Linked DNA regions of Homo sapiens: regions 1, 2, 3, 4 and 5 are each linked to region 6. Evidence: promoter capture Hi-C in 16 types of primary human blood cells and fetal thymus (Javierre and others, 2016). All regions are on one chromosome and are shown on one strand. The core of a region is centred on a gene start or on the middle of the fragment in contact, and the rest is flanking DNA. Distances in the headings are between cores, read along the strand shown. Region 1 overlaps SLC30A5 (solute carrier family 30 member 5). Region 2 has its middle 19 kb from the start of SLC30A5. Region 3 has its middle 14 kb from the start of LINC02198. Region 4 has its middle 8.8 kb from the start of SNORA50D. Region 5 overlaps SLC30A5 (solute carrier family 30 member 5). Region 6 holds the start of MARVELD2 (MARVEL domain containing 2).

Evidence for each region. The method cuts DNA at HindIII sites, captures the fragments that hold promoters and counts their contacts. A CHiCAGO score of 5 or more calls a contact.
Region 1: a contact is called between a fragment that was not itself captured here and the fragment with the promoter of MARVELD2 in region 6, in 7 of 17 cell types (monocytes, erythroblasts, fetal thymus and 4 more). The highest score is 8.9, in monocytes.
Region 2: a fragment that was not itself captured here is called in contact with the fragment with the promoter of MARVELD2 in region 6 in 14 of 17 cell types (neutrophils, M2 macrophages, erythroblasts and 11 more); the score reaches 17.9 in neutrophils.
Region 3: a fragment that was not itself captured here is called in contact with the fragment with the promoter of MARVELD2 in region 6 in 11 of 17 cell types (neutrophils, M0 macrophages, activated CD4 T cells and 8 more); the score reaches 11.7 in neutrophils.
Region 4: a contact is called between a fragment that was not itself captured here and the fragment with the promoter of MARVELD2 in region 6, in 2 of 17 cell types (neutrophils and M1 macrophages). The highest score is 8.2, in neutrophils.
Region 5: a contact is called between a fragment that was not itself captured here and the fragment with the promoter of MARVELD2 in region 6, in 11 of 17 cell types (neutrophils, naive CD8 T cells, total CD4 T cells and 8 more). The highest score is 11.9, in neutrophils.

The regions. Positions count from the first base shown.
Region 1 is chr5:69,110,029-69,113,963 of GRCh38, forward strand. It overlaps SLC30A5 (solute carrier family 30 member 5), which reads left to right. Exons shown (of 16, transcript NM_022902.5): 6 at 3,112-3,199. Among named protein-coding and RNA genes, the nearest start is that of SLC30A5, 18 kb to the left of the region's middle. The HindIII fragment of the contact is 2,827 bases long and covers 119-2,945 here.
Region 2 is chr5:69,072,873-69,076,468 of GRCh38, forward strand. It overlaps the pseudogene LOC100130639. Among named protein-coding and RNA genes, the nearest start is that of SLC30A5, 19 kb to the right of the region's middle. RefSeq lists a silencer at 2,176-2,344. The HindIII fragment of the contact is 6,468 bases long and covers 1-3,596 here.
Region 3 is chr5:69,041,909-69,045,528 of GRCh38, forward strand. No RefSeq gene overlaps it. Among named protein-coding and RNA genes, the nearest start is that of LINC02198, 14 kb to the left of the region's middle. The HindIII fragment of the contact is 5,020 bases long and covers 1-3,620 here.
Region 4 is chr5:69,149,996-69,154,043 of GRCh38, forward strand. No RefSeq gene overlaps it. Among named protein-coding and RNA genes, the nearest start is that of SNORA50D, 8.8 kb to the right of the region's middle. The HindIII fragment of the contact is 5,938 bases long and covers 1-4,048 here.
Region 5 is chr5:69,130,142-69,133,943 of GRCh38, forward strand. It overlaps SLC30A5 (solute carrier family 30 member 5), which reads left to right. Exons shown (of 16, transcript NM_022902.5): 16 at 1-928. Among named protein-coding and RNA genes, the nearest start is that of SNORA50D, 29 kb to the right of the region's middle. The HindIII fragment of the contact is 4,208 bases long and covers 289-3,802 here.
Region 6 is chr5:69,413,500-69,417,239 of GRCh38, forward strand. MARVELD2 (MARVEL domain containing 2) reads left to right here and starts at 1,617. Exons shown (of 7, transcript NM_001038603.3): 1 at 1,617-1,671. RAD17 (RAD17 checkpoint clamp loader component) reads left to right here. Exons shown (of 19, transcript NM_133338.3): 19 at 532-1,302. The coding sequence ends at 793. RefSeq lists enhancers at 1,394-2,277, 2,278-3,160. The HindIII fragment of the contact is 19,290 bases long and covers 1-3,740 here.

The DNA of each region.
Region 1 (3,935 bases), core at 282-2,781, 300 kb before region 6:
TGACCCCCTACATAGAGAGCAGTCTTGAGCGCAAATGATCAAAGGTCGGTTTTAGGACAACATGAGTAAACGAGCTATTTAGATAAACTCCTCTACACTCCCTTGTATCTACGCCTTAAGCTTTTAGGCTTCTGATAAGAGAATCTGGCTGCCTTCAGCCAAAATATCCTTCAAAACTTGCAAAACCCCCAGCCTTCCAAGAAGGTTTGCTTCTATTCCTATAATTTCTCCCACCACTGTGACTGATCTCCCACACTTCCTGTGCATGGTGCATTTTCCTAGACATAAAGGAAAGGATAGATAAAGACAAATAAGGTATAATAGTCCCTATTCTGAAAGGGACTTTCAAGCAAAGTAATGAAGGGAGATGAATGAAGTAATGAAGTGAACAAAGTAACATGCCAAGTAGAGCAGAGTAAAAGAATACTCTGCCTGTAGATTTCAAACTGGGTCATTAGTATTAAAGCATGGGCCACTATTTAATCCTTCCCCCTCACTAATAGAGTACTCCAAAATAAATTTCAAGTGGATTGAAGAGCTTTGTGAGTTTACAAAATAGACATTTGTAAAAACATAGAATAAAATACGTAGATGGAGAAAATTCTGAGCATAAAAGCAGTGGAAAAAATCACAAAGGGAAAACTCACTATATTTGGCTTCATAATGATTATAAACTTAACGTATAACAGAAATCAGTGTGTATACAAAAAACTAACAACAAAAATTGCCAGAAATAAGTTTTACATTCCTTTCAAAGTATAAATCACCCATTTCAGTTTAAAAAATGCTTAAGATCCTTGGCAGGAAATCAGCAAAAAACTGGGAATGACAACTCACAAAAGAAATAAAAATGACTTGAAAACATTTAAAAAAAAAGTTTTCCTCCTTAAGTAACTAGAAGTGAGAGTGTTCTCATTAGTGTGAGAAATGGATCAGGGCATCAGTCCAGGACTTGATGATTGTTTTTTCTTTTTTTTTTTTTTGAGATGGAGTCTCACTGGGTTGCCCAGGCTGGAGTGCAGTGGCACCATCTTGGCTCACTGCAACCTCCACCTCCCAGGTTCAAGCAATTCTCCTGCTTCAGCCTCCCGAGTAGCTGAGATTACAGGCACATGCCACTACACTTGGCTAATTTTTGTATTTTTAGTAGAGACAAGGTTTCACTATGTTGGCCAGGCTGGTGTTGAACTCCTGACCTTGTGATCTGTCCGCCTTGGCCTCCCAAAGTGCTGAGATTACAGGTGTGAACCACCACGCCCGGACTTTTTTTTTCTTTTTCTTTTTTTTTTTTTTTGAGACAGAGTTTCACTCTGTCACCCAGGCTGGTGTGCAGTGGCACAATCTCAGCTCACTGCAACCTCTGCTGCCCAGGTTCAAGCAATTCTCCTGCCTCAGCCTCCTGAGTAGCTGGAATTACAGGCACCTGCCACTGCGCCTGGCCTAATTTTTGTACTTTTAGTAGAGACAGGGTTTCACCATATTGGTCAGGCTGGTCTTGAACTCCTGACCTCATGATCCACCCGCCTCGGCCTCCCAAAGTGCTGGGATTACAGGCGTGAGCCACCACGCCTGGCCTTTTTTTCTTAATTATGAGACTGAAGCATTACAAAATTCTCAGTTGCCTTCTTTGTTAACAAAAAGATTAAGTTATGTTCTCTGTATTTGATTGTTGTTGATGTTGCCATATCCTAACTCAGTGAAAACTTAAGAAATTTAAAAGTACATGGTTTTTCTCATGTGTAGTGTACTGAATTTTGTTGTAATACCACACTAACAGAATTTATCCATTATAGTGGTAATCATAGAATGAAGAGTATCCTCACTTTGCATTGTAAACTTTAATAGAAGTATTGTATTATACTTCCATTATAGGTATATATAATACACTTAATGTATCTATATATAATAGGTATTCTACAAGTATATGTATCATACAAGACATGTTATACCTGTAAATTTGTAAATATAGAATGTATAGTAATGCTGTTTAGCCAGGCACAGTGGCTCATGCCTGTAATCCTAGGACTTTGGGAGACCGAGGCGGGTGGATCACGAGGTCAAGAGATCAAGACCACCCTGACCAACATGGTGAAACCCGTCTGTACTAAAAATGCAAAAATTAGCCAAGCATGGTGATGTGCACCTGTAATCCCAGCTACTCAGGAGGCTGAGGCAGGAGAATCACTTGAACCCGGGAGATGGAGGTTGCAGTGAGCCGAGATCGTGCCATTGCACTCCAGCCTGGGCAACAGAGACTCTCCTCAAAAAAAAAAAAGGAATGTATAGTAATGCTATTTAGATTGCTCTTGAAGCTACCATTCTGAAATATTTACATAAACCGAGCTAATATGTCCTTTCTATAATTTTCTTTTATGAAAACCTTTTTCCTCAGCCTGAACAACATGGCTAGACCTGGTCTCTACAAATAAAAAATTAACCAGGCATGGTGGCACATGCCTGTGGTCCCAGCTATTTGGTAGGCTGAGGCAAGAGGATCACTTGAGCCCAGGAATTGGAGGCTGCAGTGAGCTGTGTTCACGCCACTGTACTCCAGCCTGGGCGACAGCGAGATCTGTCTGAAAAAAAAAAAAAAATTTTCCCTGGAATGAGAACATAAATTTTATCAGCTTTTTAAGTACTTTGTACTTTACTAGATCTTAGAAATGACTTTGCTGGTTTTACCGTGCCCTCTGGATTATTTTTCTCTAGAGGAGTAGTATCTAGAATATTCTCTATTCCTTGCATATTGTAGAGTAAAATAAGTTCCTACTAGTTATTCTTTAGCTACGTGGGCTTTTCAACCAGAAGTAAAGTAGCATTTAGGAAGGCTGATTCTGTAAACAGTACCAATTTGTACATAGTAATATGCCCAGCCATGTTAGCAAAGAGATAATCAATGTTATCATTAGTTTATATCTCTTTGATATCTTACTGCCAATACTGTAAGCTTATAATATGTAAGAGCTTTAATGTCAGATTTTTTTCTGTTTTTTAATGCATTTTTGTAAATGCTTACTTGAGAAAATGTTTTTCTTTAGTATTTATGTAGTTACGGTCTTAAAAATCAACCCTTGAAAAAGTCATCCTTGATGTTGTTTTCTTTATTTTCAGACAAGGGGAGCTGCTTTTTTCATTATTGCTGTGATCTGTTTATTGCTTTTTGACAATGATGATCTCATGGCTAAAATGGCTGAACACCGTATCCTTTTGGAATAGATCAGAGTTGTTTCAAGTCTTGAGGAAAACTAGAAGCCTGGAACAATGGAAAAAGAAAGGATAAGTGAATTAAACTGATCAATGATGAATGAAACTTTCATAGATTAATGTAGATATTCTAAATCAGTATTCAAATAATGAACAAACTCATTATAAGTTAAATATTTTATAGCATCTCTGTATCACCTACAGTACCCTAAATTTTCAGAAATGTAGGGACATTGAAAGAATATTTTGGAATGTCCTGGTGCTGGAAAAAAAAAAGGTGATTTGCCACTCAACATGTTTGCTCCCTTATAATTTAACAATTAAAAGGCTGATAAATGAAAAACCTTTAGTATCTTCTTGCCTGAAAGAAAAAGTTCAAATTCCCTTACCTAGTATTCATTGTCTTGCTCTAAATTATTATCTCTAGCTCAGCCCCAACTCTTCTCTTACAGAAACCCAACTTTCTAGTCAAATATATCTACTCATTTTACTCTACAAACATGCCTTTTTTTCTATTTTCTATTCATACATCCTTACCCACTCCATCCAGCAGAACTCCAAGCACCAGTTTTTATTCTTCTATTACTGATACTCACTGCCCTAAAACTTATTAGTAAACTAATAATAATTTTCTTTGTTACAGTGAGGGAGAAGAGTGTGACTTTGGAAAAGCTCCAGGTTGCTTGTGATACAACCTCTATTCCCCACCCTCTTTTGCTTGCCACTTAATT
Region 2 (3,596 bases), core at 420-2,919, 340 kb before region 6:
TTCAAAATTCCAGGTCATGAAAGAAAGAAGAGACTAGGAACTGTTGCAGATAGAAGGAAACAAATGAGACACGGCAATTAAATGCAACACGTGATCCTGTATTGGATCCTGGATCTATAAATAACTTTATTGGGAAAAATCAGTAAAATTTGAATGAAGTTTGTGGATTAGAAGGTGCTATGGTGGCCGAGCACGGTGGCTCATGCCTGTAATCCCAGCACTTTGGCAGGCCGAGGCAGGTGGATCACCTGAGGTCAGAAGTTTGAGACCAGCCTGGCCAACATGGTGAAACCCAGTCTCTACTAAAAATACAAAAAATTAGCCAGGCATGGTGGCAGGCACCTGTAATCCCAGCTACTTGGGAGGCTGAGGCAGGAGAATTGCTTGAACCTGGGAGAAGGAGGTTGCAGTGAGCTGAGATCGTGCCATTGCACTCCAGCCTGGGCAACAAGAGTGAAACTCCATCTAAAAAAAAAAAAAAAAAAAGAAGGTGCTATGGTATCAATGATAATTTCCTGATTTTCATGGGCATTCTGTGATTACATAGAAGAGTATCCTTATTTTTATGAAACAGACACTAAAGTATTTAGGGGTGATTGGCATCATGTCTGTAACTTATTCTCAGATGGTTCTGGAAAAAGAAATAATCTTTATCTATACAGAGAGAAAAAGAATAATAAGGCAGATATGGTACGTTACTAACGATTAGGGAATCAGGTGGAGGGAACATAGGAGTTCTCTACAGTATTCTTGAAACTGCATTAAGGTTTTTAATTATGCCCACTTTAATAGCTGTAAAATATTTCTTATAACTCTATTTTATAAATCCCCGGCATCTATTTAATTCAAGATCAGAATACAATAAGAGCATGAAGGTAATGAGAAATAAGTCAGGCACAAAGAGAACTTATAAAGGTAAATAAGAGCTATTCACTAAATATACTAAGGCCTATGAATCTTAGGTTCAATTTTTTTTTCTTTTTTTTTTTTTTGAGATGGAGTCTTGCTCTGTTGCCCAGGCTGGAGTGCAGTGGTGAGATCTCAGCTCACTGCAACCTCTGCCTCTTGGGTTCAAGCGATTCTCCTGCCTCAGCCTCCTGGATAGCTGGGACTACAGGCACACGCCACCATGCCCAGCTAATTTTTGTATTTTTAGTAGAGACAGGGTTTCACCATATTGGCCAGGCTGGCCTCTTGGCCAGGCTGGTCTCGAACTCCTGTCCTCGTGATCCGCCTGCCTCAGCCTCCCAAAGTGCTGGGATTACAGGAGTGAGTCACCACGCCCAGCCCTTGGGTTCTATTTTTTAATTACATATGAAATTTTAGTATTAAAGAGCCAGAAGGAGCTTGAAAAGTCTAGTTCCTCAAGTCTTTTCGTCATACATGTTTACATTAGGATGAAGAATAGAAAGGGGCTGAGTACTGTGAGAAGCCAGGAAATGAGGTCCCATGAAGAGAGACATGTTTTCCAAGGAAAAGGACAAGGGAAGTCCACTCACCATGGAAGAAAGTGCCACAGGGCATGCTAGAAAGGCCAAGGACAGCAGAGGGATGGATGGAGGTGGGGGATACAGGTTGCTGCCAGGCAGTGGATGTGAGATGGGCCCCACCCTATTTTGCACCTCAGGCCTGCCAAGCCGGGATCCTTCTGCCCAGCCAGGCTCTGGGCAAGGAAGAGGGGTTCTGGGAGGAAGTCCCAAACTCGAAGGGTGAAGGAAGATGGCAGTGCCGAGGCTTTGGGAAGGGAGCCAGAGGCAGGAATTGGAATTGGGGCCTGGTTTCCCCATGGCAGATTTCATCCAGGTCCAGGATCTGCCCTCTCTTGGCATTGACTGGCCAAGCCATGGCTCAGGTATTCCACACCTGGGCCCGGAACCACATGCCAGAAAACCCAACACTGTTCGGCCCCAGCCGGCAACTTCCAGCAGCCAGGAGCAAACAGGACTTGTGAAGGAGGCAGTGGATCTCCAGAGCCCAGCAGCAGGGAGGCTACTTTCCGGGAGAGGGCAGCAGCACAGGAGAAGGCCCTGCCGCCTACAGGGGTCCTACTCCACTCCGGGACCCTGCCCATCTGTGGCCATCCTCCCACCAGCAGCCTGTCACCTCCCATCCCTCCCGCTGGTGACAGGCACCGGGGTACCGTGCCCAGCCCCCGGGCACCTCCACAGGGCTGCCATGTGGCAGAGGAAGCCGGTGAACTGACGCTTGGCTGCAGCCAGGCAGGCCTAAGCTCTGTTGCCCCGCCGCATCCCAGCTACACCCACAGGCCTGGATGCCAACCAGCTGGCGTCAGTGCCCGCGGTGCCTTCCAGCACCCGCCTGTCCTGGAGGAGCTGCACCTGTCCCCTAATATCTTCACCCGCCTCTTAGGGGCAGCCTTCTCGGCCCTGGCGTGCATGGTGCACCACCTCCACCTCTCTGAAAAGCTGGCCTGGGTGCCCGTGGAGGCCTTCGTGGGGCTGCAGATCCAAGTGAACCAATCCGCCAACCCGTGAAACTGGGACTGTGCCCTCCAGGGAGTGCTCAGGCTGGTGAGGCTGGCGCCGGGCACCAGGACAGGCATCGTGTGTGACCCCAGAACCCGACCAGACCTCGGTGGGGCAGGAGCTCCTGCCGCTGGCAGGGGAGGAAGAGCTGTGTGGGTCGGGGCAGGGCCCAGAGGAGCACCAAGGTGGCCCCTGCCGTTGAGGGGTGGCTGACCTGGTGCATTATGTATGGTAGAACCGAGATGAAACCTGGCGCACCCTCAAGCGGCCCCTGTTGCCAGTGCACCCAGAGGATGACTCCACCCTCAGCACAGTGGTCTAAGGGTGCTCCTGGGGCCACACCACACACTCCTCCTCCTACGCCCTCTCCCTTCCTCTGACCCCCCGCCTTCTCCCTTCCTCTGACCCCCTCGGCTTCCTGTGCAGCCTCACCCCAGCCCCCTAAATACCTGTCCTCTCTCCTCTCTGTCTCTCTCTGTCTCTCTCTCTCTCACACACACACACACACACACACACGCCATCTCTAGTGCCTGGATTTATCTGGTGCTCCAACTTACTTAAAGAATGGGAAGGACTTTGGACAGAAAAGAGGGAGGGACCCTAGATGAAAGGCTGTGGAGGCGGCAAGGAAAATGTACAACTTGAAATGTCTGGGCAGTGGCAAGACCAGCCTCAGGGCTGGAAGAGAGGATGCAAAGAGGGACGGGGAGATGGTGAGACCAAGCTGCAGGTGGGGTCCGAAGTCGGGGTGCGGCCAGATTTAAAAGGACACTGTAGGCTCCGCCTCTCTTCTCCCTTTGCCTCTACTGAGAGCCTCCTCCTTGCTTCTTGCCTCTCTCTTGCCCACAGGCCCCTCTTCCTGCAGTCTGTTGGAGACCTCCCATCTCAGACTCCCTGCTTCCTTCTCCAGACACTCCTTATCTCTCTGTGCCCTCCTTTATGCACTGACAGGGTTCCTGAGCTCCTTCCTGTGTGGAAAATGTGGTCTCTTCTATGACTGAGCTGGGGACGGGTAACTGGAGAGAGCTGGGGGAAGGGGGTAGACCCCAGAACATCACTGGAGAAATCAATAAAGTCACCTTTATGAAGGAGGAAAAAAGGATCAAGAAT
Region 3 (3,620 bases), core at 194-2,693, 370 kb before region 6:
TAATGCACTTCTCTGACTGCTGGGAAAGGTAGCCAATATATTTAATATGGCAGAGTGAAGATCCAAAGGCTCTAACGATAAGCCAAACTTAATAAAAATTTTAACTGAAATAAATGTAAAGCCCTACGCTTACATTTTTTTCGTGCATAAGAACAGAATCAGGTCCAGGCGCGGTGGCTCACACCTGTAATCCCAGCACTTTGAGAGGCCGAGGTGGGCGGATCACCTGAGGACGGGAGTTCAAGACCGCCTGACCAACATGGAGAAACCCCGTCTCTACTAAAAATACAAAAAAAAAAATTAGCCGGGCATGGTGGCGCATGCCTTTAATCCCGGCTACTCGGGAGGCTGAGGCAGGAGAATCGCTTGAACCCGGGAGGCGGAGGTTGTGGTGAGCCGAGATTGCACCATTGCACTCCAGCCTGGGCAACAAGAGTGGAAACTCCGTCTCAAAAAAAAAAGAACAGAATCAGAAAAACATGACTAGGCCCCTAATTAAACATGGTGGGGTTTATTTCTTTCTTGTTTTATTTCTTCTGTCCTCCCAAACCTATCAAAATGATAATAGATTAATTTTTGACAAAAAGTAAAACTCAAAAAAAAAAGAATGAGAGAGGAGAAATAGAAGACAGGAGATATGAGCAATAATTTGAAACACAGAAAGTGCATAGTAACTGATTTAGCAGAGCCTACCGTCAATGGGTCTGCAAAGAAGAATTCCAATGAAAGTGAAACCAATTCACTCCCAAGAACCCTGGAAAGACCTAGCACTAGGTTCTGTCCGGGTGCTGCAGAAAGGAGTGGTGAAGCACTGAGTGAAAAGTAATAGTGTGTGAAAGTATTCATATTAATAGAATGAGCTGCTTAGTGAGGGTGTGTTTTCATTCACTGAAGATGTTGGAGCAGAATTAAACACTAATCAAATATGTTATAAAAGTGATTCAAATGTTGGACACAAACTTGACTCCAATGACTTTTAAAGCCCCATCACTCTGAAATCCTATGATTCTAGAATTTATAGTTACTTACAAAATTGTGTAGACAGGACTTCAATAGGTTTTAGGTACTTCCGGATGTATTTTTATCAGCGTCCAATAGGTGGCGCTGTGGTATAAGATGAGACTCAGCAAATGGCTGCCCTTACTTGATTCTCCTGTGCCCTACCGAGTGTCTAATAACAAGTAACAGCTAGAATGTTTGATTTTTTTTAATCGGAAATCTAAACCCAGAGATTCAGAACACCTAGGTTTCATAGTTCTTGTGGCGCATGAGCCTTTGTGTGATTTAGTTTGTCATCCTTCTCTGTCCTTCCGTCTTATTCCTATCCAAGTTGTGGCACTTCAATGTATTTGTCGTTCTCGGACAGCAAAGTAAGTCAAACGCGAAACAACTCCCCCTTCACATCCCGGATGCCCTGCCTCCATTGCGTGTACCCTTTATCTCAGGGCTCTGAGTGTGTGGGGCTCTACAAGCGTTATCTCCCTTGATTTAAAAAATAATAATAAATAAAAACAAGACAAAACAAAGAACTTACTGTTCCAGCACAAGTTTACATCAGTATCGATCAGGAATACGATTGTCTCCGGCTGTCCTCCCTTTTCTGCTGATTAGGAGATTCATGCTTCGCTTCTTTGTTTTTGTTGTTTTTGTTTTCGTTTTGATTTATTAAATGAATTCCTTCATATCATAGCCAAGTCCAATACACTTTGCTTCCTAAAAGCTAATTACTTAATATCTAGCTCTTATTGACAAATTTTGCCACTCATCAAAGTTGTAAAACTTGGTTTCTTCATTTCCCTTTATCTGCTTCAGATTTACAAGGTCCCTGGGGAATTTCTGCTTCTCATCAAGGAATGTCTCCATCAACTCCATATATTCAGGTAACTCTGCTCCCACATTGAAGACTCAAATCCAGGAAAATTTCCTAACATGAGGCATCTGTAAAGCTGTCCAATTCACCCTCTTGGCATAACCTGTCCCGCAGGGTTTTTCAACTTAATGATTTTTTTTTTCATTTTGGCTAAATGCCATTAGTCCACCCAGAAAGCAAGACTGGCCTTTTTGTTTGTTTGTTTTTAACGGAGGTTTCACTCTTGTTGCCCAGGCTGGAGTGCAGTGGCGCGATCTCAGCTCACTGCAACCTCCGCCTTCCAGGTTCAAGCAATTCTCCTCCCTCAGCCTCCCAAGTAGTTGAGATTACAGGCACGTGCCACCACTCACAGCCAATTTTTGTATTTTTATTAAAGACGGGGTTTCACCATGTTGCATGTTGGCCAGGCTGGTCTCAAACTCCTGACCTCAAGTGATATGCCTGCCTCAGCCTCCCAAAGTGCTGGGATTACAGACGTGAGCCATTGCACCGGCCAAGGCTGCCTTTTTTAAATACTTGAGTCTAGTCTAACTGACAAGAAATGTTAGTGAGTTGAGCTGGGGGGGAAAAGGCCCATACTCACAATGCAAAACAGTAACAAACCCCAAACAACAACAGCAACAACAACAAAAAACCAGCATTCTTTCCATGACCAGATTTTCAATAGTAATTTCATCTTTGCACCTTGTGTAAGTACACATCCTAGCAGCCTTGCTCAGTTACATATCTGATTGACTCCTGTTGTTTTACTTGGTTTTCTAAAATGTCCTCTGTACTAATCTGATCTGAACTCATATTTTCCATCAGTTCTATACCAACTTTCTAGACTTGATCTTTCTGTTGTTCTCTGGAAAGAACAGAAGTATTTAGAGCAGTTAATAAGCACTTGTGGAAACCTCTCTGAGTTGTTTGTCTCACAGAAGGAAGAGTTACACCTGGCTAATTAGTCCTCCAACTACATCGTTTCTGTAGTTTCAAAACGTTCTCACATTTCCAACATCAGTGGTGTAAGTGAACACCCACCCACCCCAAATCACAAAATAAAAAACTTTCAAAGGAATGTTATGCATTTGTCATACAGATTCTCATATGTTTATTTTAAATTTATTATGTTCATAACATATTTAGTCTGTTAAGTAGCTTATAATGTTGGGTTGGAAGTAGTGTTCTTAGTGGTCCTTGTAATCTGCTATCAGGCAAATTGCAGAGCCTATTGAAAAGGAAAGATTTTCAACTTTGTGGGTTCGAATTCTACATACAAGCCCCTACTCAAGCCGCATTCATTTATGTTGTGATGAAGCTGTGTACTGGGAGACCCTGGAACGGCCCAATGGGTTCACCTTTCCCGCTGCCTAGACAGAGCGAATTTATCAAGACAGGGGAATTGCAGTAGAGAAAGAGTAATTCACACAGAGCTGGCTGTGCAGGACACCAGAGTTTTATTATTACTCAAATCAGTCGCCCTGAGCATTCAGGTATCAGAGTTTTTAAGGACAACTTAGTGAGTTGCGGGAAGCCAGTGAGCCAGGAGTGCTGATTGGTTAGGTAGGAGATGAAATCATAGGGAACTGAAGCTGTCCTCTTGCGCTGAGTCAGTTCCTGGGTGGGGGCCACAAGATCAGATGAGCCAGTTTATCGATCTCGGTGGTTCCAGCTGATCCATCAAGTGCGGGTCTGCAAAATGTCTCAAGCACTGATCTTAGGATCAGTTGAGGGAGGATCAGAATCTTGTAGCCTCCAGCTGCATGAC
Region 4 (4,048 bases), core at 828-3,327, 260 kb before region 6:
GTTCAAGAGCCAAGGCCTGGAATCAAGGACCTCAAAAGCCCACTCAGTGCTCTTCCCCACTGTGGCTAAGCTGGTACCTAAACTGATTTTTGGTTCTTATGAAGGTGTTTTTTTGTGTAAGACAGTTGTCAAATTTGGCGTTCCTTCGGGGAGGACAATAGGTGGAGGCTTCTATTCAGTCATCTTGTTCCTCCTCCTATCCCAAGGCATTAAAATATTGATTAGGGCCAGGCACGGTGGCTCACGCCTGTAATCCCAACACTTTGGGAGGCTTAGGCAGGCGGATCACCTGAGGTCAGGAGTTTGAGACCAGCCTGTCCAACAAAGCAAAACTTCGTCTCTACTAAAAATAGAAAAATTAGCCAAGCGTGATGGCGCAGGCCTGTAATCCCAGCTACTTAGGAGGCTGAGGCAGGAGAATCACTTGAACCCAGGAGGCGGAGGTTGTAGTTAGCTGAGATCGTGCCACTGCACTCCAGCCTAGACGACAGCAAGACTCTGTCTCAAAAATAAAATAAAATAAATGATAATATAAAATAAAATATTGAGCCCAGGTGCGGCAGCTCATACCTGTAATCCCAGCACTTTGGGAGGCTGAAGCGGGTGGATCACGAGGTCAGGAGTTCGAGACCAGCCTGGCCAACATGGTGAAAACCCATCTCTACGAAAATACAAAAATCAGCCAGGCGTGGTGGCAGGCTCCTGTAGTCCCAGCTACTCAAGAGGCTGAGGCAGGAGGATTGCTTGAACCCAGGAGGCAGAGGTTGCAGTGAGCCCAAAGATCACACTATTGCCTGGTCAACAGAGTGAGACTCGGTCTCAAAAAATAATAATATATTGATTAAGGCTGGGTATGGTGGTTCACACCTGTAACCCCAGCACATCGGGAAGCTGAGGCAGGATTGCTTGAACCTAAGAGTTCCAAAGCAGCCTGGGAAACATATTGAGAACTCATCTCTACAAAAAATTAAAAAGTTAGATGTGGTGACTCACGCCTATAGTCCCACCTACTTGGGAGGCTGAGATGGGAGGACTGCTTGAGCCCAGGAGGTCAAGGCTGCAGTGAGCCATGACTGTACCACTGCACTCCAGCCTGTGTGATAGAGTAAGACCCTGTCTAAAAAAAAAAAAAAAAAAAACAGGCCAGGCTCACACCTGTAATCCCAGCACTTTGGGAGGCTGAGGTGGGCAGATCATGGGATCATGAGGTCAGGAGATGGAGACTATCCTGGCTAACACAGTGAAACCCCATCTCCACTAAAAATACAAAAAAATTAGCTGGGCGTGGTGGCGGGAGCCTGTAGTCCCAGCTACTTGGGAGGCTGAGGCAGGAGAATGGCATGAACCCGGAAGGCAGAGCTTGCAGTGAGCTGAGATTGTGCCCACTGCACTCCAGCCTAGGCAACAGAGCAAGACTCCATCTCAAAAAAAAAAAAAACACACATATTGGCCAGGCATAGTGGCTCACACCTGTAATCTCAGCACTTTGGGAGGCCAAGGCAGGTAGATCACTTGAGCTCAGGAATTTGAGACCAGCCTGGGCAACATGGTGAAACACCATCTCTACAAAAAATACAAAAATGAGTGGGGTGTGGTAGTGCTTGCCTGTAGTCCAAGCTACTTGGGGGGCTGAGGTGAGAGGATGGCTTGAGACCGGCAGGTCGAGGCTGCAAAGAAGCCATGTTCGCACCTCTGCACTCTAGCTTGGGCCAGAGAGTGAGACTCTGTCTGCCTCTCTCTCTTTATCTCTCCAGGGGACACCCCAAGCCCAGTAATGCTGTAGATCTATATATATCTGTATATATAGATTAGGCCAGGTATACTGACTTGTGCCTGTAATCCCAGCTATTTGAGAGGCTAAGATATACATACATATAGATTAGGCCAAGCATAGTAACTCATGCCTGTAATCCCAGCTATTCAGGAGGCTAAGACAGGAGCATCACTTAAACCCAGGAGTTTAAGACTAACCTGGGCAGTATAGCAAGATCCTCTCTCTCTCTCTCTCTCTCTCTCTCCATATATATGTATTAGAAGCTCTGTGTCAGTGTGCAAGCATGTCAAGTGGTGAGCTTCAGTATAAGGGTAACCAAGCGGTGGCCCAGTCATTTCATGGGGACCTTTCCTAACCATCAATATTTTTAGAACTTTTTCTGTTGGGCTGATCCATTCCCCAGAAACCATTCTCTTACTTCACTTAGAAGGGTATAAGTCCAGCTGCCAGCCTTTTGGGGACTGGGTAGGAGAAGGCGACTGGAGGTCTTACCATTTGGTATGCACAATTTTACTTAAAGCCCCTCTCAGCTTGCCTGGTCTCCTGAAATCCAGAACCCCTTTAGTTCAGCCACTCCAGAACATAAACCTCTAGTCGTCTGCCAGGACCAAGGAGAGGTTGTGCTCTTACTGCACTCAGCTGAGCAGGATGGAATCAACCAATTCTTTTCTTTTTTAAATTCTTTTTTATATTTTAAAAATATTTTCATCCAGCTAAAAATATCAACAACCAATTCTTTTTTGTTGTTTTTGTTTTTTCGGTTTTTTTTTTTTGAGACAGGGTCTCACTCTGTCACCCAGGCTGGGGTACAGTGGCATGATCATAGCTCACTGCAGCCTCAACCTCCCAGGCTCAAGTAATCCTCCCGCATCAGCCTCCTGAATAGCTGGGACTACAGGCGCCCACCACCATGCTCGGCTAATTTTTTTTTTGAAACAGGGTCTCACTATGTTGCCTAGGTCTCAAACCTTTGGGCTCAAGTGATCCTCCACAGCCTCCCAAAGTTCTGGGATTACAGGTGTGAGCCACCGTGCCTGGCCATCATGCATCTTTTAAAAACCATTGTTTTGGCAGAGCTTGAGGAAGTAACCAAGATACGTGTGTATTAGTCTGTCATGTTAGATCACTACTCCCTCTGTGAAACACTGACTTCTCTTTTCTGAGATACCACAATCAGTTCTCCTGCCTCTCTGGTGTTCTTGCCCAATATTCTTAGATGGCTTTTCTTCCTCCGCTCCATCTTTAAATATGGAAGGCCCAGACCTTGCTTCTGGGCATCTACTCTTCTGTATGTTCCTTCCCTAGATGATCTCATCTGTGTCAGGCATAAAAGGCCCTCTACAGCAAAAAGGGATTATATCTCCCATCCTGACCTCTGTCTAGTAGACTAGTAGACCTCGCCTCTTGTATATCTTTTTTTTGAGACAGGGTCTCACTCTGTCGCTCAGGCTGGAGTACAGTGGTGTGATCATGGCTCACTGCAGCCCCAACCACCTTAGCTCAAATGATCCTCCTGCCTCAGCTTCCCAAGTAGCTAGCATCACAGGTGCATGCCTCCACACCAGGCTAATTTTTTAAAGAGTTTTTTGTAGAGATGAGGTCTCACTATGTTGCCCTGGCTGGGTCCTGTATATCTCTAAGCGTTCCAAATACAGCAGAATTCTTTCTTTCTTTTTTTTTTTTTTTTGAGAGGGAGTCTCACTCTGTCACCCAGGCTGGAATGCAGTGGCACGATCTCAGCTCACTGCAACCTCTGCCTCCCAGATTCAAGCGATTCTCTTGCCTCAGCCTCCCAAGTACCTGGGATTACAGGCGCCCACCACCACGCCTGGCTAATTTTTGTTTTTTTAGTAGAGATGGAGTTTCACCATGTTGGCCAGGCTGGTCTCGAACTCCTGACCTCAGGTGATCCACCCACCTCGGCCTCCCAAAGTGCTGGGATTATAGGCGTGAGCCACCATGCCTGGCCTCAGAATTCATAATATCCTATCCAAAACCTGCTACCCTCTAAAAGGTGGTCCTCTCTTGGTCTTTTCTATTTCAGTTACTCAAGCCAAAACCCAGGAGTCATCCTTGATTCCTATTTCTCTCACTCAAGCATGCAAACCATTAAGACCTAGCAACTCCACTTCCATAACATATGCTGGCCCATCCCTTTCTGTCCACCTCTAATAGTCCATCCAAGCCATCATCTTTCCTGGTCTCTTGCAATAGCCTCTTTCTGGCCCCCTTGCTTCTCTTCTCCTCCCACCTCTCCTTCATCCTCCCCTTACC
Region 5 (3,802 bases), core at 1,143-3,642, 280 kb before region 6:
TGGGAGAAACTTCAACCACTGATATGAGATAAGCAATGAGAATAGGGAAGTGTATAACATCACAGTTTTTGATGTATTACAAAAATCAACCACTCTATAAAATAAATTTTTTTTACTTTTGGTAATATTTGCAAATGAATAATTAATTTATTAGGGTAAAGAACTTATACTAAGTTGTGTCCATGTTATTCATTTACTTACCATGTTCCTTTAAAGTAGAATATTTCCTTTCTTGTTATATATTTGACATTCCAAGCTGCTTATCAAGCTGGTATCCAAGCAGTGGTAAGCTTTCATCCTTTCTTAGCTCCATAACGTTGTGAAACAGCCAGTTAAGAGAATCGTAAATAATTGTCAACTCACAGTTGAATTCTCTGCCTATGTAGGTAACTTTTTTCTAATTTCTGGAACATATAGATATATAAGAAATATCAAAGAATAGGTAGTTATTTCAAAGTTTAATAAGTAAAACTTGTTCATAAACATTTGAGCACCATGAAATCAAAATACCCTATAACTACTTTCTATAGTCATATCTAATTTATATTTTTTTCATTTCCAGTTGTAACTAGATATGTAGTAAAGTCTGAAAAGACTTTACCATAGACAATAACATGCAGTTTTATCAGCACCAAAGAATGTTGTCCAAAAGAAACTTTTTAATACCTGTCTTTCTATTTATAACATCTGAATATTTTCATTCTTATATTAAGAATTTTGATAAGTAGATTGAATTTAGTATGAGTACTATTTTCTTATATATACCACAATGGCAAACATGTATTATAAATCATATTTTTGTCTTACCAATTTTAATATATGAGGGGTTTTAGAAATTTGTTGTAAGTTATTTTTATATTCCTTGTCTTTTGCATATTTTTTGGCCAAAATCTTCAATACATATTAAAATTTTTGAGTGGTGGGAAAATAATTGCATATTGATGTTTTAATGCAATTTTTATACATTAAAAAATTAAGTAGATAGGTGCAATAAATATTACACCAAAGTTAAAATTGTCATTTCCCTTAGAAGACATATAAACAGCAAAAAAATTAATGTGATTGTGAGATATTAGAGTGAGAGAGAGCAGGGGCTGAAGGTTGGGGAGGTACAATTATAAAGTATGGAAACTCTAATATTGAAAGCACCAGGGTACTGTATTTCAGCTCATGCAAATCATGCAACTAGGCCAGGTGCAGTGTCTCTTGCCTGAAATCCTGGCACTTTGGGAGGCTAAAGCAAAAGGATAGCTTGAGCCCAGGAGTTTGAGAACAGCCTGAGCAACATAGCAAGATTCCATCTCTACAAAAATTTTTAAAAATTAGCTGGGGCATGGTGGCACATACCTCTTGGGAGGCTGAGGCAGGAGGATTGCTTGAACCTAGGAGGCCAAGGCTGCAGTGAGCCATGATGGCACCACTGCTCTCCAGCCTGGGTGACACAGAAAGATTTTATCTCAAAAAAAAAAAAAAAATTCATGCAACTTTAGGCAAATCAGCCTTTCTGAGGTATCTTTTTTTTTTCCTCATATATAAACTATATAAAACCTGCTCAAATTTACAGCACAGGATATGGGAACAAAAGGTATAATGTATGTGAAAATGCAGTGGAAGTTGAAAAAGGCTAAATAGGCCGGGTGCGGTGGCTCACGCCTGTAATCCCAGCACTTTGGGAGGCCGAGGTGGGCGGATCACGAGGTCAGGAGATCGAGACCATCCTGGCTAACATGGTGAAACCCTGTCTCTACTAAAAATGCAAAAAATTAGCCAGATGTGGTGGCAGGCGCCTGTAGTCCCAGCTACTCGGCAGGCTAAGGCAGGAGAATGGCGTTAACCTGGGAGGCGGAGCTGGCAGGCAGCCGAGATAGCACCACTGCACTCTAGCCTGGGTGACAGAGCAAGACTCCATCTCAAAAACAAAAAAGAAAAAGGCTAAATACGAAGAATTGTTACTTTTTAAGCCTGACTTCAAAGGTAGCCGTCATTAACTTGTCTCTTTTTTTCTATAAATTAGCATCTCAAGAGATTAATTAGATGTTTAACATATAAATAAGTTAAAAATAATGCCCAAAATAGAAGCCTGTTTTGAGGGAGGGGAGTTTGGATTTTTTTTTCAGAGACAAGGTCTCACTCTGTTGCCCAGGCTGGAGTGCAATGACATGATCATTGCTCACTGCAGCCTTGAACTCCTGAGCTCAAGCAATCCTCCCACCTCAGCCTCTCCAGTAGGTAGGACTGCAGGTGCACATTACCATGCCCAGCTAATTTATTGTTTGTAGAGACAGGGTCTCACCATGTTGCCCATGCAAGTCTCGGAACTCCTGGGCTCAAGTGATCCTCCCACCTCTTCTTCCCAAAGTATGAGGATTATAGCCATCCTGGCTAACACGGTGAAACCCCATCTCTACTAAAAATACAAAAAATTAGCGGGGCGTGGTGGCGGGCGCCTGTAGTCCCAGCTCCTCGGGAGGCTGAGGCAGGAGAATGGTGTGAACCCGGGAGGCGGAGGTTGCAGTGAGCCGAGATCGTGCCACTGCACTCCAGCCTGGGTGACAGAGTGAGACTCCGTCTCAAAAAAAAAAAAAAAAGAAAGAAAATAATACAATCATTTATGGCTTTTTGTGTTTTATTTATGTTTTTATTTATTAGTTTTTAGAGTCTCGCTCTGTCGCCAGGCTTGAGTGCAGTGGTGCAATCTGGCTCACTGTAACCTCCACCTCCTGGGTTCAAACGATTCTCCTGCCTCAGCCTCCTGAGTAGCTGGGACTACAGGTGCACGCCACTACGCCCAGCTAATTTTTGTATTTTTTTTTTAGTAGAGACAGAGTTTCACCATGTTGGCCAGGATGGTCTCGACCTCGACCTTGTGATCCATCCGCCCACCTCGGCCTCCCAAAGTGTGGGATTACAGGCATCAGCCACCGTGCCCGGCCTGTGTTTTATTTTTAATTATAATTCTTTTCTTCTGTTATAGCAATTTATGGCGTTTTAAACATTCAGTAAATTAACTCATAACAAATACTGAAGGCCTTTATACTAAATACACTGCACTAGGAGCTAGGGATAAAGTCCTCAGTAATACAAAGTCCTGCCCTAATGGAGCTTACTTCTAATGTAGAAGACAAGACCAGTATGTAATAAAATGTAGTAAGTGCTGTGAAGAAAAGCAATAACTTACTGAACTTTTGCCATGTTCCAGATGGACACTGTTCTAAACAATAAATATGTGTAATTATTATTTCCATTTTACTGATGCAGAAACTGAGGCAGGAAAAGGTTAATTAACCTGCCCCAAATCATACACGTTATAAGTGGGAAAGCCAATTTTCTCAACTAGGCACTCTGGATTCAGGGTTGAGACTCAACTAAAGCAGCGTTCAAGGACAGAGTTATAGAGGTGCCAGAGAGTGGTTGAAGAGGATTTCTATGGAAGAAGACTTCAGCACTGCATTGAAGTCAGGAGGCAAACAATCTCCAGGATTCTAAACCATCTTCTACTAACAGCTACTATTCTAGACTGAGAGAACATCAAATGAAATGCAAGGACATTTGAGACAGGAGGTGCTTAGCATGATTAAAAAAAAAAGAAGCAAGAGGCCGGTGATCGCAGCAAACTTAGACAGACAGCATGTTGAGAACTTGGAAAGTCTGTGGATGGCTCCAAATAAGGTACTGACTTGAGCCAATGTGTTTCAAAAGAATCAGGGTAGGAGAGCAAGAGTGGAATCTAGGGGACAGTTGGAAGGCTTTTGCTGAAGCTGAAATGAGAGAGGATGGTGACTTGAACTAAGTAACATATTCA
Region 6 (3,740 bases), core at 367-2,866:
GTTTTTGTTGTTGTGGTTTGGTTTGGTTTTTTTGTTTGTTTGTTTTTTGTTTGGAGACAGAGTCTTGCTCTGTCGTACAGGCTGGAGTTCAGTGGCACGAGCTTGGCTCACTGCAGCTTCTGCCTCCTGGGTTCAAACAATTCTCCTGCCTCAGCCTCCTGAGTAGCTGGGATTACAGATGCGTGCCACCACGCCTGGCTAATTTTTCTATTTTCAATAGAGATGGGTTTTTGCCATGTTGGCCAGGCTGGTCTTGAACTCCTGGCCTCAAGTGATCTGCCTGCCTTGGCCTCCCACAGTGCAGATAGTACAGGCATGAGCCATCGTGTTCAGCTCCTTTTTGTATTTTAAGTTGTAGGAACTTATTCAGTTTGTCATTTACCTTGTAGTTTTGTTTTTATAGTTAAAGGGACTAGCTAAACAGCACAATGTAGGTAAATGAAAGATGGCTTCATAATCATCACACTCATGGTGTAATTTAAAAATCTTCTCCTTTGGTTCTTATTAATGCCTGCACTGTGAATCTGACAGATTGAAAATGGAAGCCCTGACTGACAGGGAACATGGAATGATAGACCCTGACAGCGGAGATGAAGCCCAGCTTAATGGAGGACATTCTGCAGAGGAATCTCTGGGTGAACCCACTCAAGCCACTGTGCCGGAAACCTGGTCTCTTCCTTTGAGTCAGAATAGTGCCAGTGAACTGCCTGCTAGCCAGCCCCAGCCCTTTTCAGCCCAAGGAGACATGGAAGAAAACATAATAATAGAAGACTACGAGAGTGATGGGACATAGAAGCCAGCCTGCTAATCAGATTGCTACTTCACAGCTTCATTTTTGTTTCATTCAGTGGTACTTCAGCAGAGTTAATATGCTTTTCTGATGAATTACACAACAGTTTGTTAATTCTTCATTCTTGTAGTATTTCATCACAAGAAACCTACTCTTCTGTCATCTTGAAGTAAATAGAAGATCAAGCCTTCAAATCTCTTAATTTTTTCGGTATTTATTAAATCTGTGAGTGGTTTAAGGAGCGGTCAGTGTGTATAAAGTGTGTTTGAACATTATGCCAAATATCAAGATGTGAAGGACTAATTCAGGATGCAAAAACGTTATTGGGGGGTTGTAAATATCAACTATTCAACAGTTTAGGATGCAATTACGAGTGTAAACTGTGTGCCTTATTTACACTTTATTGTCTCCCGCTTCTCAGATAGTTTTGATGTGTTGTACAGTGGAATATCTTAGATACTTTTTGGAAAGTATTTACATAAGTTATATCACAATTAAAATGTTGAATTTAATTTTGTTTCTCCTGTCTTTTAACATTATCTAGCACGCACTCGCTGCCATGGGTCCTTAAGCACAGTGCACCAATCTCCCTCCCCCAGTGTCAAACTTTTCAAAAGATAGGGAAGAGGATGGCAACGTTGCGATGAGAACTGTAAACTCTTTCCAAAAGAGCCCAGTGTGTGGTCATTGCCGCGACGTGCCGGCTGGTGGCACCGAGCAGCCTGGGCCCAGAGCGGTTGTCGGGCCGACAGATCCGGGCGGGGCAAAGCCGGGCGGGGAAAGCTGGGCTCGTCCCGTCCCGGCCCCGCCCCCACCCCGGGAGCCCGATACCGGTTTCAGAGTCCTGGGCAGCGTGCGCGCTCTTCCTGGCGGCTGCGCAGGTAAGTGGGACCGGGGTGGGGCCACGTGACCGGGAGAGGAGGGCCCGGCGGCCCCCGGCCCAGGTGTGCTGCGACGGACGGCTGCCCGCGCTCGGCGCTCAGCCTGCCATAGCCCGCGGGGGAGGCCGGAGCCAGGGATCCGGGGAGGCCCGCGTCCCGCCAGGTTTCGCTCTGCGGACGCAGGTGCGGCCGAGCCGCCGTCCTTCCGGGCGCGGGGCGGGGCGCGCACCTCGGGGCGATCTCGGTGCTCCTTACCTGGGAGGTCTCCCGGCTTAGTTTCGGCCTCGTTGGGTCGGAATCTCCAAAGACAGTGGGTTTCAGCCAGAAACGCGAAGACGAACGCCTAGCCGGCGCGGGCAGAACCGAGGACACAATGAGATTTGTGGGACCGGGCGCCCAGAGGCTGGCGCGGGGGAGACCCCACAGCTAAAATGCTCGGTACCCCCGGGCAGTCGTGGGTTAGTTAGAACCGCAGAGCCTTTCCCGACCCCTCGGAAGCGCAGAAGTATCCGAAATCTACCCGTTTCTTGGGTCCAGCAAAACTTTTAAGCCAGGTAAACCGGTGGTTCTGTTTGTGTAAAGGTGACCAGGCATGATTCCTGTGACACTTTGCTGGGGCAGCCATTTCTCCTGCCATTGCCGCGGCTTTCCAAGATGAGTGTCCAAGAGTGGAGTAAGGGTCCGGGGCCTGAGCAGGACAAAGACACACGCTGCCGCGACCTGCGGGACCAGAACGAACTCTCAGTGACATCTTGAAAGACATTAGGGGTATCCAGATATTTAAGATGTAATGAAATACAGCTAACCATTCCCTTCTAAAAATCACATTATCTTGCTTTTCCACAACTCTTTAATAATTGCTTGTTTTTTCTTTAAAAATGGATAGGGTGGTTTGATTCAAATAAGCCACTTCACAGGTGAAGAGTTAAATCCATTACAGTGAATCGTATTTTTACCAGTGAGTTGAATTAAGCATAGCGTATCCTGTAAATGCTGTGTAAAACTTGCTAAAATCATTTGTTGTGCTTTTGCTTCTACATTTCTTAGGAATGTGTTTCAAAAACTAGAGTCGTAATAGCATTTCTAGAACTTACACTTTTTTAGAGAAAGAAAGAGAAAGGTACAAAAATAACTGATTGTTATAATATACAGAGCCGCTTTGCATTGGGCACCCTGCTGGGGCCATCACAGTTAATCCTCTAAGGTCGGAGTGCCCTATTAGAAGACCCTGGGTTTCCACCGCATTCCCTTGTCTCCAGTCTGTACATACCCTGTGTGCCTTGCTTGCCCTCTTAACGTCTCTACCTGGATTTTTAACGCATCTGAAACACTCTTCAGTCTGCTGCTCCCCAAGGCTAAGCTGGAGGGGTGGAGAATGAGGTATAGATAGATAAAATGATCAGATGTCTGGGGTTTACTTCAGAGGACTCTATTGGCAGAGGAAATAGTATGGGGAGTATAAATGAAACAAGTTTGGCCATAAATCGATAAGTGTAGAAGCTGGATGTGGGTACACAAGGGTTCATAATGCTATTCTTTCTACTTTTTATTATGTTTGAAAAATTCTATAATAAAAATTTTAAATACCTGTCTAGCATTTGACCTCTTCTCAAGATCTCAGTGATCCATTGGATTATTTCAATGGCCTAGCCAGTCTTCCTGTTTTACCTCTTGCCTTCTGGAGTGTACTCTCAACACAGCATCCATAGTGATACTGTTAAAACAAGTCAAGTCATGTCACTCCTCTATTCAGAATCCTCCAGTGGCTTCTCATCTCACTCCTAGCAAAAGACAAAGTCCTTTCTTTCCAGTGGTTTTCAAGGCCCTACATGATTCAGATGGCCTCAGTTCTACTATTCACCTTCTTACCCACTTTGCTGCTGCCACAGTAGCTTCCATGCCTAAATATTTCTTGAACATACCAGGCACTCCTGCTTCAGGGCATTTGCGCTAGCTATTCCATCTGCCTGAACACTTGTCCCTGATAATGGCCTGGCTTCCTCCTTCACCTTCAGTTCTATACTCAGATATCCCTTTCTCTGTGAAGATTTCCCTGCCCACTCGGTTTA